Regions from separate parts of the Homo sapiens genome. Here region 1 is linked to region 2. The links are contacts of gene promoters, found by promoter capture Hi-C in blood cells and fetal thymus (Javierre and others, 2016). All regions are on one chromosome and are shown on one strand. Each heading gives the region's core, a stretch centred on a gene start or on the middle of the fragment in contact. The rest is flanking DNA. Distances are from core to core; before and after follow the strand shown.

The links. The method cuts DNA at HindIII sites, captures the fragments that hold promoters and counts their contacts. A CHiCAGO score of 5 or more calls a contact.
Region 1: a fragment that was not itself captured here is called in contact with the fragment with the promoter of OSTN in region 2 in 1 of 17 cell types (endothelial precursors); the score reaches 6.0 in endothelial precursors.

Annotation. Positions count from the first base shown.
Region 1 is chr3:192,430,404-192,434,277 of GRCh38, forward strand. All of the region lies in intron 2 of FGF12 (fibroblast growth factor 12), which reads right to left. Among named protein-coding and RNA genes, the nearest start is that of FGF12-AS2, 83 kb to the right of the region's middle. The HindIII fragment of the contact is 1,616 bases long and covers 1,333-2,948 here.
Region 2 is chr3:191,197,606-191,201,048 of GRCh38, forward strand. It overlaps OSTN (osteocrin), which reads left to right and starts at 1,636. Exons shown (of 5, transcript NM_198184.2): 1 at 1,636-1,702. The HindIII fragment of the contact is 2,884 bases long and covers 388-3,271 here.

The DNA of each region.
Region 1 (3,874 bases), core at 891-3,390, 1.2 Mb after region 2:
GTTCTGCAAGATGAAAAAGTTTTGGAGATCCATTGCACAGCGGTGTACTTAATATTACTAAACTGTACACTTAAAAATAGTAAAGATGGTAAAGTTTATCTGTTTTATCTCAATGAAAAATAAAGAACTGGATCTTCTTTGAAACAAAATGCCTGCAATTATTTCAACCTCACCCCTGCCATTTAGGTTTTGATTACCACTCTCTAAATAGTTACCACACAATGTACAAATATTTCTCAAAGTAATAATCAAGTTGGCTAGAAGACATTCAATTCATTTATTGGGGTCCTATTATGCCTGAAGTAATGAGTTTGGCCCTAGGGTGAAAGGGGGAATGAGGGAAGGCATTTCGCCACCATGAAGAGGGTAGTCTTGGGTGGGTCTTAGTGACCACAGGTAAGGAAAGACATGACTCCTGTTGATACGGAATACAACAACCTGCTTCTGTACTATAACCAGTGTATTGGGAGCATAATTGTTATTGGAATTTCTCAACCTTTGAGTTTTTCAAACAATTGGGTCTATGCTCAATATCAACAGTTTTTAAATTCCACTGAACACTTCTCTATTTCAAGAGATACCTGAGGTTTTCATGTTAACCTCAAGTCACAATGGAGTCCACCCACTTTCTCCAAGCACCAGATATTATTTTGAAGATATCCTGTAAGCCAAAGGAATGAAGGAACAGATGATATGAGTTATCTTGAGAACTCCAACATAAATGAGATCTGAATGGAGAAATTACTTGGATCACTCTAACAAAGGCAAAAACGGCCTTTACCACCCACAATGAATCCCAGAGATAAGCTCGCCCTACTTACACAGGAGCTGGGTTCTGAAAAGAGAAACTTCAGCGGTACCTGTAAGCAGTTGTAGGTGAAACCTTTCCATTTAAAGTTTGTATCAGGTTGATTTTCTTGGAAATCAAAATAGAAAGGAGCTGATTAGATCTTAGCTAAAGGGGAGAAACAAAATAGCTGGAGTCCCTGATGGTAAAGCTGTATTAAAAAGAAAACGTGTGAAGGAGAATTTAAAAAGCATATAGCACTTTATTCTTGTATTTCTATTGCCAATGTGACTAGAAAACTAAAGAAAACCAAGAGACTCTTTTTATACTGTTATTCTACTTCCTGTAATGAAAAATGACAGGGAGAAGTGGAAAATCAGTTCAAAATACAAAACCTGCTCAACAGAAAACAATTCTGATAGAATCACAGAATCCTAGGGTTGGAAGGTCAAGTTGCCCAACTCAAGTACCAAGCGTTTCTCCAATGATGACTTGTATTATCATAAAGTGTATAATAGACTTGTATCTAGACTTAGACTTATGTAAGCTTTCTATTATCTAGAAATGTTGTTGAAATACTAAACTCAACATGTCAAATCAGCCTAACTTGTCCCATTGCTTATCAGATAACAGCTGGGATAACAGCATTAACCTTCACCAGGTCATTTAATAGGAAGCACAGGGCATCCTCTCTGACTACAGCCTCTCCTTCATGTACCCCAAGCACAGCACACACATATCAATACACATGTACACTATGCTGTTTCCACAATGTCTCTTTGTTGTCTTTTTTCTGTTCCCACTGGCAGCCCTTTATCCAGGCATTCCATCACCGTTCACCTCGGCAGCACCACATAGATCAGGTCTGCTTACCTGTGGCATCTCCCTCTTAATTCCCATTCTTCAAGGGACTTATTTCAACCACCATCTTTCAATGTTTACTGACACCAGTTATGTCCCAGGAGCTGTCCTAAGTACTAACAAAGATGCAAAAATGAATGATGACTTTTGCCTTTAAGTAGCTGAGAGTCTAATGGAGGTAACACAACCTAATAAATAAGTGTACTACAGGTCAGAATAAACCAAATACAATCTTGTTCAAAGTGTTGTGGGAGTATTGATTCATATGATGGAAGGAATGACGGTAAGGCCAGACCTTAAAGAATAAGAGACATTCCAAAAACACAACAAGATTCTCGTCCCCTAAAATGCATACCCTATATAATCCACTCCCCTTCGACATAAGTAGGAGACCATGAATATGATGAGATATCACTCTCTGGATTGTGTTGTGTAAGACCCCTCCTTAGCAGATCAGAGAGAGAGTCCTAATGGCCTTAAAGGAGAAATTGTCATGTTGTGAACCGCCTGTGGGAAGGGCCATGGGGCAAGGTCCTGTAGGAACTGAGAGAGCATTGCTGACATCTGGCAAAAAAAAAAAAAAAAAAAAAAGAAAGAAAGAAAGAAAGAAAAGAAAAGAAAGGATGTCAGTCTTGCAAACACAAGGAATTGAATTCTGCCAGCAGCCCGAAAGAACTTGCAAGAGGATCTGAGCTCCATGTGAGAACCAACAGCACGGCAAACACTTGGCAGTTTTGTGAGAACCTGAGTAGAGGACCCAGTGAAGCTGTGTCCGGTTTACTGACCCACCGAAACTGAGATATGAGCATGTGTTGTTTTGAGTAATAATTTGTTATGCAGCATGAGAGAACTATTACACCTTCCCTAAATGAAGTGAGTCGGGGTGGTCTGTAGCATTGGTGAACTCCCTGAGGGTACCATATCATCTGATTTCCCACACAATTTCTAGGGAATGGTACCCTTCAGATCGTCAAACGTGAGAATCCAGCTGTCATCAATCTCCTCCCACCCCCTCGCTCCAACGCACACATATGTTCTATCCAGGGAATTCCTAGAAAGGGCATTGATTCATCATTTTTAGATTCATTGTCTTTGAGGGCACCCCCAGGGACCCTGGCACCCCAGTCATTGTGCTGAGAAAACAGAATCACAGTACTTTAGATATAGAATGATCCTTAAAGATATTTGGGAGTAATCTTCTCCTGATCCTCATTTTAGATGAAAACAGGCCCAAAGTGTCTTCTTTCACCTCCTACAAATAGTCAACTGCAGAAGGACAAACAAGTTTTGTGTGGCCTGAAGCTTATATAACTTGGGAAACTCTCCTTAAAGAAAATAATACAAATTTACAAATATCAAATTACTTACCAAGCAAATATTTACTAAATATAAGAAAAAGAATTTAGACCAAATTGCGCATTTGAAAAATTAACATCACAAAATTCAGACACAGCTTTAATACCTTTTCTTTATAATTTTTGTCTGTAAATGTTTTCATCCTGTAACATAAATGTTAACAATATTTTCTGTAAAACAGATGATCAGTCTCACCTCCAATGTGACTAACTTATTTTTAATTGTGAAAGTTAAGAATTGTTAAATTCAGCTTTACCACTCATTATTGCTAACGTCATGTAAATATTTAGACTAGTATCAAATTTGATTTTAAAACAAACTCAGTTTCCTTGATTTCTCAAATATTTCACATATGAGCTAAGAAACGTGGGAGAATTTCCCACGATTAATTCCTGTACACTTCACCTCCCCATGGGGTATGTTCACAACACAATTCAATCTCTTGCCATGCACTTTTGTGCCATGCCCCACACTGAGTCAGCACAGTGGGCAGTTTCAGTATTTCTGGCCATTTCGACATCAGGAGGGCTGGCAATGATTTACTAGTAAGTGACTGTAAACATAAATGATAATCCTACCAAAACCAAGCTAAATGTATCCCCAGTTCAACTTCTCCTTAGCCAGAGCCAAAACTGGCAATGACGAATCCACCACCCTTAAACAGAGAAAAACTGATAAAGCAAATGGCCGAGTGGAAAAAGATAGCAACCTTAACCAATTGTGGAAAAAAAATTCTCACTTTTGCAAATAAAAAAACCCAGAAAACAAAACACATGTGAACACCCTCCGGGAGCCCCTCCCAGAACTTGGAAGGGGCTGTGCAAGTGAGGAAAGTGAGGAACTGATGAAGCTGTGGTTTGATTAGCCTCT
Region 2 (3,443 bases), core at 386-2,885:
ACCATGGATGTTCCTGGAATAAACTGTTGCTATTTCAACTGCTGCAGAACAGTTAAGTCAAACTTTTGAATTAGGTCAACAAAATCCACAAATAGGGAGGAATCTTTGGACTGTCTAAGCAGGGACAGATCTGGAATAAATCAGCCACAGATATCACTTGTCGGCATGCTAAGAGCGGCATTTCAAATAAGGGTAGAAGGTATGCCAATAATATTGGCTTCTGGTAGCATTATGATGCATCCATTAATTCTATATTGAGAGTTTTCCATCATGTGGATTCAAGCTAACATAATTGTTTTATGGCAGTAATGTCTAAACAAGGGTCCACAATTAGGCTGTATTTTTATCTTGATTTGTGAACTGTCTCTGCCAACTACTCAAATTTCAAGCTTGTTGAGACATATGTTATCCCTGGAAACCCATCATAAAAATGAAGCATTTTACTGTCCCACTAATTCTGTGTGCTCTGGTCAGTTTCCCCATCTAGATCCAAATTAACCATGTAATTGTCCTTATACTAGTGACTAGTATTTTAAATGGCCTTTTTAGGGAAACCAAAAAGAATAAATTTATTGCTTTTTGTGCAAAAATATAATCTGGTTTGGATTCTCTTTTCTAGCTTTTAAAGCAGTGAGATAGAATGCAGTCGTGGGAAAAGAACTGGATATGGAATTAGGAAGATCTGCATTTGAAATCCAGCTCTGCGACTACTTCTTACGTGTGTGATCTCATAAAGTCACTTAATTTATCTGAGCCTTGGCCTCTTTACCTGTCAGATGGGGACCCTCTGGTGAATCAAATGAGCCATTAACGATCTAATAACATAACATGTTACCTTTATAACTTAATAATTCATTTAAAAAATAATTTGTGTATGTAAGGATGCAAATATAATTAGTAGGAGATAAGAATGAAAGAAAACCTTCAGCCAAAGGCAGAAATATTTTGGTTAAAAAGAAATCAAAGTACTGAAGAACAAGAGCAAGACAAAAATGATTACAACGTCTTCATTTATAGCTCACATGTCACAGCTCAGTATTTATAGGTTTGTTAGTGACAGCCTTCCCAGTATAGCAATGTTAATTACGAAGTAGCTGTCATTGTGTTTCACTGACACAGCACTGTGCACCTGACGGAGGCTGAAAGTACTCATTATTTCCATAGCTGATCATTTAAAGGTCCAAAAATTACACCAATAAATCCGTTTGTGTCTGATTACAATCTCTCTATATCGTACATTGAAATTCCCTGGTGACTTTTTAACAAATCTTAGTGCATTTTATTTCCCAAATATGATTTGTAATAATCAGAGCTTGACTAAAACCTCAGGAAGAGGTGATGGGTGTGAAGCTGAACACAATACTAAATCTATATTCAAATTTTCCAGAGCCTATACTTCCATCGTTATTTAAATGCCATGATCAAAGCAATAGATAGACTAAATATGGAGGGAAAGGAGGGAGGGAGAAACTGAAGAAGGAAGGGAGAGGGAGGGAGAGAAAGAGATCGAAGAGAGGCTTGGGAAAATGTTCAGTGGAAAATCTGTAGAAATGATGTAAGAGAAAGCAAAGGCAGGGATTGGAGTAAGGGGTGTATAACTGAGACTATAAAAACTCAGAGAGAAAACTCACCACCAGGGCTGAGTTTTGGAGAAACTGCAGAGACAGTACTCTAAAGTTAGAATCTCCTGATCTTTCACGAGGTAAGTTATATGTAAAAATTGATAAAGATTTAATGCTTCTTTTAACTATTATTTTTACTTTCACAGACTCTTTAAATGTTTTGATTATATCTTGATTTTGTTAAAATTAGAGTGGTAATATTTCCCTCTCTAAAATGAGTAGAAAATCAAAGATATTTTTGTAATGCAAACTTAAGGTAGAACTAATTGCTTATTCAGATATTTCATATTTATAAGATTGCTTTTCTCTTCCATTTCAAAACAAACAGAAAGTGAATGCAAAATAATAATTCTATACATATATATGTTATTAGCGTTATTTTGCTTTCCTCAAAATTGTGTAATATTAGAAAAATGTTTAATATAAAAGAGTGGTCTAAACAACCTAGGTAAAAAAGAAAGGTTTTTTCCTCATTATTTCTATCAAAACTGGAGCTTAAGAAACATCCCTAAACTAATGAAATTCTATCTCTTATGTTCTTAAAACCTAATGCATCTTCTGTTTTTCTCCTTATATGTCAAATATGCAAATATGATATTAATAACATAGTTGGAGTAGACTTAGAGTATGCCTGTTCTTCAGTATTTGTAGTGCTCTTGCTATTCAATGATTGAATTGAGAGTTAATCTGAAACATACATTTGAGCTCTGTTGGAGAAGAAATTTAAAATTTTATTTCAGGTTTAGTGTGCACTCAGTGAATTCAGTTCTAACAATTCAAATGTTGTTTCTTTGAATAACAGACTCTATAGGTTTAGGAATGTGATTATTATTTGTTTATGAGTTTTCCTTCTAAAAATTTAACATTTTTGAGAATGAATTATGGTAATTTTAATGCCTATATAAGTTATAGAATTGATAGTGTTATACCAAAAACACCAGGGACATTCTGTGTTTTCTCTTACTTTGGTACTACTCTTCAGCACGCTTACAGAACTTTTCTAAGGAGCACTTTCTGTAGATAACAGTTCAGGTCTCCTTCATGTCAGTGAATTTTACTATGGCTTCATTCAAAAATTATTCAGAGTGTTTAAGGTTGACATTTGCTTTCTCCCCCTTATTTCTCAGGATTTTTAACTGATTCTTATATACTGAATAATGAGCAGTAGAGAAGCAGATATCTTCAGTTGACTGGGCACGGGAACCTCAGGGCTATAATTTTAACTTCTTTTACAAATACTCTCAATGATTTGAACATTTGATTAATAAAATTAGATTAATTGAACTTGTCTCAAAAATAAAGAACTCGAAGTAAGAAATCCTAATATATCATTCTAGCTCTGCTATAATCCACCTATACAACTGCAGGCAAGCCTTAAGCACGAATTAAGGCTTGATAATATTGTATTTTGTCCTTGTGAAAAGGACAAAAAAAAATAGAAGTGCTAGGGATACTGAGTATAAAAATATTTGAGGAAGCCCCCATGTCAGTCAATTTTCCCTATATTAGAGAATAAAACCTCAGTATCACAGAAGTTTAGGACTAATCTTTAGAGCTAATTTAACTGCTTTGCCAATATTTCATTTACTATGACTGTTACCTACCAGACAACTTTTGCTTAGATTCAATAGTTCAGTCAGAGAAATACAAGCTTTGGAGGCAGAAAACTAGACTTCTAATTCTAGTTCTGACTTCGACAGCTTTATGGACAAACCATTCAGCTTCCCTGAAGCTTTATTCTCCTCCCCTCAGGAGCTTGTGGGGATACAACAAGTAAGCTACAACAAGGTGCTAACTCTGGGTATCTCTCTTAAATGAACC